2 separate regions of the Homo sapiens genome follow, and region 2 is linked to region 1. Evidence: promoter capture Hi-C in human tissues and cell types (Jung and others, 2019). All regions are on one chromosome and are shown on one strand. The core of a region is centred on a gene start or on the middle of the fragment in contact, and the rest is flanking DNA. Distances in the headings are between cores, read along the strand shown. Region 1 holds the start of XKR3 (XK related 3). Region 2 has its middle 56 kb from the start of XKR3.

Region 1 (4,599 bases), core at 870-3,369:
TACATCGGCAGCAGGAAGAAGAGTTCGTGGTACACAGTGAAGTTTGGAAAGGTGTTCCTATTGACATCATTATAATCATGACCACCATCATCATTTCTTAGAAACACAGAATTGACAGGACTCACTGATTAAGAGTATTTGACAGTGAAATATGAGAGAAGAGATTGCCTTGGTCAATTCTTGAGTATCCATCTGGTAGAGCTTGGAAAAGTGGTGGAAGCAGAATTTTTGGGAAAAACATTTAAAATAAACTTAAACACCTTACTTTTGATCTGCGTGATGTACAGAACTGGTGATGAACAGGGCAACCTTGTCACTTTAAAATATATCTGATTGCCAATTTGCAGCATCACAAGACTAGTAAACATTTACTGTGAAACATTCAGAAAATACAAATTACCAAAAGAATAGAGTTTACCTATTGCTTAGTTTTCTCCAGCAATGGAGAGATCAATAATAATAAATCTGACACCAATTCAAAATATGAAACTTTAGGGTACTCAAGTACTAAAAGGTTTTTTTTTTTTAATGTAAACAAACTCACAGGTAACAGTGTCCAAAGTAGAACATTAGAAATGAGAGATTCTTGATGTAACAACAGGTCCAGGTGATGATAATTCAAGGCTGCTGAAACAAGTGAATGAAATCTTGAAGGGATCTTAATGATGAGAACTAATTCTTGCTTGTTGGAGTGATGAGACAAATGGTCCAAAAATTAAAAAACAAAACAAAACAACAACAACAACAAAATAATTTGTTGCTTGCAAATAGGCCCTAGAAGCAATATGAAACAGTCTTCAAATGAATAGATGAGAAAAATCGCATCTGACCTAATTAATTCAATGTCACAAAAAGAGAGACAATGTGTTATTTAAAGGGATGAGACAGAAAAAACACTCTTGTAAATAAAGAGAGAAGAGTACAATGAAGTACCCATTTCCACCTACGAGGAACGGGCATGTAAGAAAATACGGGAATCATGTGCAGATGATATAATTACTTATCTAGAGGCACCATAAAAATGTTTTTCCCCAAATAATGTCCATTAGGGATAAAATTTTAAGAAAGAAAGGATGTTACTTTTAAAGACAATTGTTAAATACCTAGTAAATAGAGTAAGTGAGTAAGAAAAGCAGAAAGAAAATAAGTTGCAGCTACCAGATACCCACAAAAAGAAAGAAAAGGGAAAAAGAAGGAATGGAGGGAGAGAGCACAAATGGAAAGAAAAAGGGTGGGAAGGAGGAGGGAGAGTAGAGAGAGAAATTACAGAAGTAGGCGAGGGGTATAAAGGAAAGCATGGAAAGACAACTGCAGAGACATCAGAGTTTCTGGGCCTCAGGATAGGGGAAAAATACATCCAACATTATAAGAAATATATCCCACTCTCTCCCCAGCAATCCATACATCGAATATGATATTAATGCAGATTGCACCTTTCTGGCTGCCCCAACCACTTCCTTCTCCTTTGGACTCACAGAAGGACCTCTATAATTTATTTCTGGAAAACACTTATGAAAATATGCACATATGAAAAGGGCCACAGAGTTTAGAAATGGGTCTTCCAGAGTCTAAAATTCAAGGTAGAAAGTGAAAGTGAAGTCACTGAACAATGGAATTTAGGCATGTGTTTGTGATTAAGTGAACTTGTTTCTTGTACTCACATAGCCAGTGCATCACTGCATCTGAATAACAAAAAATATGGTAGATTTCTGCCCCTTTGAGATTTCACTTAAATACGAAGCACTTTCTCCTTCTGATGTTTAAAAACATGCTGAAATTTGTAATATATTAGTAACAACCACTGTCCCACCCAAATGCTAAGCAGCTGCTTCTCTTCTCTGAAAATCAGAATCAAGAGAGGGAGTTTCTAGGCTCAAGACTCGGGAAAAGCCACCCCTGATATCCAGAGATTTATGTTAAGATCCCCAGCTGAGACAGGCAGAGGTCAAGGTAGGCTGAAGAAGCTGATCTGAGATGGTCGAGGGCTGCTCCTACTTACCTTGCCTATTTGCCACCCTCACAGTTTTGAAACTCGTTCAAAAAGTAAATGCTTTTGTTCACCTCTTTAACAGCACCATTTCTGGTCTCGTTTTCAACACTACGTCCTTTGCTTTGCAGGTAAAATTGCTTATTTTCTTGCCTTTTTATGACTAAAGTAGGCTTGCAGTTTGGAGTCAGGTGACTGCACTAGCTGAGTCATCTTCCCTTGAAAACACCAAGGCATTCTTCCTCCCTACAGAGTCACACATCTTAGTTCCCCAAAACGCTCAGCCACAATTTGACTTCGATTGTCCTACATTTAAGGTGATATTTTTCTGATTCTCCCATTAACTCCCTCTTCTCTTCGCACCCATGGCCCATCTTTTGCTGCTGTCTAGTAGCCATTCATCCCCTCCCATCACAAAAGAAGTCTGTACTTCCTTCAGACAGAGCAACAAGAAAATTCCCCAGAAAGCAAACAATTAAACAAATTTTAATTTTGCCTTTTTTAAATGAAAATTCTGTCAAAATTGATGAACCACATCTGGTAGGAGCACCTGTTTTATTTTCACAAAGAGTTTTCTGATCTGGACATTTTTGTTACTTACTGCTAATATGGAAAATTTTGAACTAAACAAAATACACCCCCAAAACTTAAACTATGTTAAACCAAGACAAGCTTCTAACAATGACACCTCTTTCCAGTATGAGAGAACTGCCTCCTACAGTATAAGAAATATCAAAATCATTATTTTTTTATTCCACACATATTCAACACTTAAAGCCAAGGCATTAGAATTTTAATATACCACCTCTCAAGCATGAACATATAAAAATTCTTACTGTAAATGGGGCATGATTATTTTTCAAAGAGAAGAAATATTTTATTCAATTCTAAGATTAATTCACAAATTTGACTCCTGTTTTATAATGATAACTTTACGTTGCAGGACACAGAGATTATTCCTTAAGAAATATTTTTTAAATAGATATTTGGCTCTTGGAACCAAATAATAAAATTTTCTGCTTAGACATACATACAAATTTACTTTACTTAAAACACTTTCTTGTTATTATTACATTTTTAAATCTCCCACTCTTTGGGATCTCCTTATAAGTAGGTCACTTGCTTTTAAAATCTTACATAATTAACATGTCAGATATTTACAGACATACCAAATGAAAGTATTATTTATTCTATGATATGAATAAAAAATGTTTTGAATAGATACATACATGAATAACTTTTTATTCTGAAATCTAATCAGTTTTATTCATATTTGATTTTATTTTAATTTTTTAAGGTATGTTTCACATAATACAAAATTACATTATTCAAAATTATATTATTAAAACATTTCTATCATCAAACAGGAAACCCCATTATCTACTTAACAGTTCTTTCTATTCCCCAGCCCCTGACAACCATTAACCTACCTTTTGTCTATATGGCCATGTCTTTTTACCATATATGTTTTACACTGCATCAGTTTTCAATCCAACATGCCAAGCTGAGAGAGTTTTTAAAATATTTATTTTTATTTTTTTGCACCGTCCAATTACCAGGCCCTATGCTCCTCGCACCAATCTAGTAAGACTGTGTGTGTCAAGGAGAAAATTATGTTTATTTCAGGGATTGAGGATATTAATTAATTTATTTATTTATTTATTTATTTATTTATTTATTATTTTCTTAAGACAGAGTCTTGCTCTGTTGCCCAGGCTGGAGTGCAGTGGCACAATCTCAGCTCACTGCAGCTTCCGCCTCCTGGGTTCAAACGATTCTTCTGCCTCAGCCTCCCGAGACCTGGGACTACAGGCACATGGACCACACCTGGCTAATTTTTGTATTTTTAGTAGAGACAGGGTGTCACCATGGTGGTCAGGCTGGTCTCGAACTCATGACCTCATGATCCGCCTGTCCCGGCCTCCCAAAGCGCTGGGATTGCAGGCATGAGCCACCATGCCTGGCCCTCCTTATTAATTTAAAAGATTCTGCAGGCATGAAACTTTTGCAGAATAAACTGTGTAAGTAATCATTCTATATTTTATTTTTACCAGATACATTTCTGAGACTGGAAAGTAAACAGTCTTGGCCAAATTTTTATGTTTGTTGCTAGGTGACCAAAGTCCTCTTGTGATGCCATTGCTACTCAGGTTGGAAACCACTGTGGTGATCTCAATTACTTTACCTGAGTAGACTACTGAAGCAGCATTTGAAGCTGCAGTCTTGAAACACATGCAGGCTGGAAAAGTCGCTAAAGAATTACTTATTTGAGATGGCACATGTTTCTGCAGAAACTCAAGATGTTTCTCCTAAAGATGAATCAACTGGTTCAAAAGCCTCCTCTGGGTCTCCATTGTGTGAACACATAATCCCTGGGGATTCAGACTTAAGGTCAATGACTGAATCAATGATTTTCAGGTTTTGCCACAAGGATCCTTGATAAAAAGGCCACATTATACTTTATGTCTCTGAGCCAGATAAAGATAATGATTTTCCTTCTCTGACCTTTCCCAGTAAACTTTGGAAAATAGCTGAAAGTGACCAATTCAAGTCTAATTCATAGGATAAGAATGAAACTTGCATAGTGACTAATGAAGAACTCTTCAAGAAAG
Region 2 (4,599 bases), core at 1,299-3,798, 56 kb after region 1:
GAGTAAAAGTTTCCTGAGGCCTCCCCGGAAGCAGAAACCACCATGCTTCCTGTATAGCCTATGGAACCGTGAGCCAACTAAAGGTACTTCTCATGTATTTCTTTATAGCAATGCAAGAACATACTAATACAGCTAAGCAGAGGCCATCAGGACCAGCAACAGTCTGAGCTGGATGAGAGACAAAGCTAAACTTTGAGCAGCAGCAGGAGCTGCCAGGGAGACAGAAAGGAAGGACAGACTCCTAAATTCCAGGATGTCTCCTTTAAGTCTGTAAGAAGCTCAGCCACCGTCTCCTTACCTGACTCCTTTGGGAAAGAGTTTCCCTAGGTTAAGCCATACAGGGATAGGGTAGGAGATGCCATTTGGATCTAGGAGCAGAGGGCAGAGACTCAGCAGGAAGAGTGTCTCTTTGAGAAGGAGACACAGTGGAACAGCTGTGTAGGTTCACAGGGCCAGCTGTGGGTAGAGTTGAGTGTACATTTTTAGAAGCCACAATTCCCAAAAATCTCCTGACTATAACATCAGTGCACGGAGCCAGTCAAATGGAGGAGGAGTGGGTCCAGGCAATTCAGGAAGAAGGAAAGTAACAAATGAGTGGTTGCAGGAGGACACCCTTTCTGTCGAGGTCACTAAACAAAACATTGTCTCCTCCCCTTAACTTCGGAAACAAGCAATGGAGGGTAAAAGTGTTGCCTGGGCCCTGGGGGCAAAGGCAGTAGATAACTTCTCTGTCGTGTTCTCCAGAAGGGCCCATTCCAGCCTCACAGGCCGAGAAGTCTGTTCGGTTCCCAAGTACTAGAGATGCTGCTATAAGGGACTCCCGAATTTCCTTCCTGAACCAGAGGCTGCCCAGCCTTTTCTTCCTGTTTTATTTTTTCCCAGGAAGAAACTTGCCTGTACAATTACAAGGTTCTACGGTTCTAAATTCCATTCTAGTCTTCCACATCATTTTGAAGGTATAATATTATTTGTCAAAGTGGGATGATAGAAGATATGTGTGGACTTAAAATTAAATTGTTGACAAGGAAAAAAACTAAAATAAGAAAATAAGAGAGAAAAAATATATGCATGTACAGTGGTTAGCTAGAAATATGCCTTTTAAATATTTGGCATGTGGTATGTGGGCCTCAATGTGTACTATTGCACTAGCTTCCCAAATATTAAAGGATGTCTTTTAAAAGAAAAACCTCTTGCTAAAAGGTTAACAGTTAAAATAACCAGAGTGGCACAGGTACCAGTCATTAAGTGAAACCTTTCATCTTCCCAGAATAGTACCTGTTCCCAAGCCAGCTTCTTTGAAAATCACTTTTCTCTCCTTTACTATTTAGTTTACAGATTGTATAGTAACAATATAGAAACCACAATAGTAGCAAAAAAAATAAAGAATATTTTTAAATGAAAACTCACATCCTAACTCTAACAAAACATGAAAATTAAACCTGAATGCCTCCCATTCCTGATATATTTTTCACCTAAATATTCAGCTCTGGGATTGCATTGTTTTTGGATTGAGTGGAAATTATTGCCTGGTCTTGAAATCTTCCACAATGTGTGTGTGTGTGCGTGTGTGCATGTGTGCGTGTGTGTGTATGTGTGTATGTGTGGTGAATATATTTCTTTTTGTTCAGAGGAAACATTTTTTCAATATGTATATTTATTTTAGGCAGATTATGCTAGTAATTTTCTACAAATGTGCTTTTTAAAAAATAACCTTTAATTTAAAAAAAATTATTCTTTCTCAGTGGCCCACAATTGTTAAAAATGCTACTAATGGAGCTGGGTATGGTGACACACATCTGTCATCCCAGCTACTTGGGAGACTGAGGCAGGGATATTGCTTAAACTTGGGAATGTGAAACCAGCCTGGGCAACATAGTGAGATCCCAATCTCAAAACTCAATCATTAAAAAATAAAATAAAATAAAACACTACTAATAGCTTTTTAAAAAATAGTTCTTAACCAATTTTCCTAGCACCTTCCTTTCCTCAGTGAAGTATAGAAATATGTGGTCAGGCACTGTGGCTCACACCTATAATCCCAATAATTTGGGAAGCCAAGGCATGAGGATCAGTTCATTCCAGGAGTTCAAGACTAGCCAGGGTGACATAATGAGACTTGGTCTCTAACAAAAATTTTTTTTTCTTTAATTACCAGGGCATGATGGTGCATGCTTGTAGCCCAGCTACTTGGAGGCTGAGGTAGGAGAATCACTTGAGCCCAGGAGGTCAAGGCTGCAGTGAGCCATGGTTGCACCACTGCACTCCATACCTGGGTGACAGAGTGAGACACAGTATCAAAAACAAACAAACAACAACAAAAAGTATTTGTTTTAGAAAAAACATTTGGTGAGGTTTGGGCTTAAAAATATATTATTCTAAAATATTCATAAATATTCTCTAGTAATGATAAGATTAAAGTGACAAAGACAAACTTTTTTCCTGTGCAGGTCCATCTCTCGCCTTCCCGTAATTTGTCTGTCCCATCCAGCTTCCAAAGGAAATTATTTACAAAATACTGTCTGCATCCTGGGTCTATATATCTATCGCCTATGAGGAGAGCGTTTAAGATCTGAGCCATCTTCAAGTCTTATACTTTGTGTATAGCTCTCATGGTTTTGCAGGTGAAGTAAGTTTGTATACCCTTTCTTTTATGAATCTGTGTCTGGTCAGTTCATTTCGGGTAATCTTCAGAGGGTGAAAGGGGAAGCTTTGCACTTCACTCCTACTGTGACAACTAACTACCTTCTTACTTATTCAATGTTTTAGTCTATATCAACACTTTCATATACATTTACTTTTAAACACAATTTTGCATCATTACACTTAATATTTTATTTACCTTTTAAAAAGGAAATTAAAAATAAAATTAAAAATTATAAAATTTTACATAATAAAAATAAAATAAATGATTTATATACAAATTAATCTGACCTGTGAAAAACACTATCCAGAGGCCAGGCACGGTGGCTAACGCTTGTAATCCCAGCACTTTGGGAGGCCGAGGCGGGTGGATCACGAGGTCAGGCGATCTAGGCCACGATGAAACCCCTCTCTACCAAAAATACCAAAAATTAGCCGGGAGTAGTGGCGGGCGCCTGTAGTCCCAGCCACTGGGAGAGGCTGAGGCAGGAGAATGGCGTGAACCCGGGAGGCGGAGATTGCAGTGAGCCGAGATCTTGCCACTGCAATCCAGCCTGGGTGACAGAGCCAGACTCTGTCAAAAAAAAAAAAAAAAAAAAAGAAAGAAAGAAAAAGAAAAACACTATCGAGAGAATAAAAAGACAAATCACAGACTGGGAGTAAAAATTTACAAAACTATATCTGGTGAAGATACATTTGTCATCCAAAACATACAAAGAACTCTCAGGACTCAATAATAGGAAAACAAATAGTCTAACACAAATGTAGAGATCTGAACAGACATTTCACCATAGAATACAGATGGATGATACGTAAGCACATTGAAAGATGTTCAACATCATTCTTCATTAGGGAAATGTAAATTAAAACCACAATGAGATACTGCTACATGCCTATTAGAATAGCTAAAATTTAAAAGACTGACCATACTAAACACTGGTGAGAACACAAAGGAACAGGAATGCTCATACACTGCTGCTGGAAATACAGCCACTTTGTCAGTTTCTTTAAAAGTTAAACTGGCCGGGCGCGGTGGCTCACGCCTGTAATCCCAGCACTTTGGGAGGCCAAGGCGGGTGGATCACGAGGTCGGGAGATCGAGACCATCCTAGCTAACACGGTGAAACCCCGTCTCTACTAAAAATACAAAAAATTAGCCGGGCGTGGTGGCGAGCGCCTGTAGTCCCAGCTGCTCCGGAGGCTGAGGCAGGAGAATGGTGTGAACCCGGGAGGCGGAGCTTGCAGGGAGCCGAGATCGCGCCACTGCACTCCAGCCTGGGCGACAGAGCTAGACTCCGTCTCAAAAAAAAAAAAAAAGTGAAACATATCACACCACCTAGTCATTCAAATCCTGCTTATTTGCCCAAGACAAATGAAAGCTTATGTCCAAACGATTGGACAAACATTCGTAGCAACTTTATTTGAAATAGCAAAAACAACTGGAAGCAAACCAAATGTCCATCAAGAGGTCCATCAATAGATACACTAACTGTAGAATATCCATACAATAAAACTTTTTTTTTAAACTACGGGGCAAAAAACAAAAAACCAAAGATAGAATCTAACTTCTTGGTAAATACATTCACTATTAGGGTTTTTATAACAGAGAAGTCATTCTTTATTAACACTCTTTTGACTATGAAAATATTTTGACATCAAAAATCTGCAAAATATGAAGAAACAAAGGACACACAGCTTTTTCTATTTTCTATTTTTATTTTATTTTTATTTTTTTGAGAAGGAGTCTCTTTCTGTCACCCAGGCTAGAGTGCAGTGGCGCGATCTCGGCTCACTGCAAGCTGCGCCTCCCGGTTCGCGCCATTCTCCTGCCTCAGTCTCCCGAGTAGCTGGGACTACAGGCGCCCGCCACCAAGCCCGGCTAATTTTTTGTATTTTTAGTAGAGACGGGGTTTCACCATTAGCCAGGATGGTCTCAATCTCCTGACCTCGTGATCTGCC

The links. The method cuts DNA at HindIII sites, captures the fragments that hold promoters and counts their contacts. A contact is called where the count stands out against the background at its distance.
Region 2: a contact is called between a fragment that was not itself captured here and the fragment with the promoter of XKR3 in region 1, in 2 of the 25 tissues and cell types used here (dorsolateral prefrontal cortex and mesendoderm cells).

Annotation. Positions count from the first base shown.
Region 1 is chr22:16,823,292-16,827,890 of GRCh38, forward strand. XKR3 (XK related 3) reads right to left here and starts at 2,120. Exons shown (of 4, transcript NM_001386955.1): 1 at 2,000-2,120. It also overlaps the pseudogene HSFY1P1. The HindIII fragment of the contact is 14,808 bases long and covers 1-4,599 here.
Region 2 is chr22:16,878,787-16,883,385 of GRCh38, forward strand. No RefSeq gene overlaps it. Among named protein-coding and RNA genes, the nearest start is that of XKR3, 56 kb to the left of the region's middle. The HindIII fragment of the contact is 4,101 bases long and covers 499-4,599 here.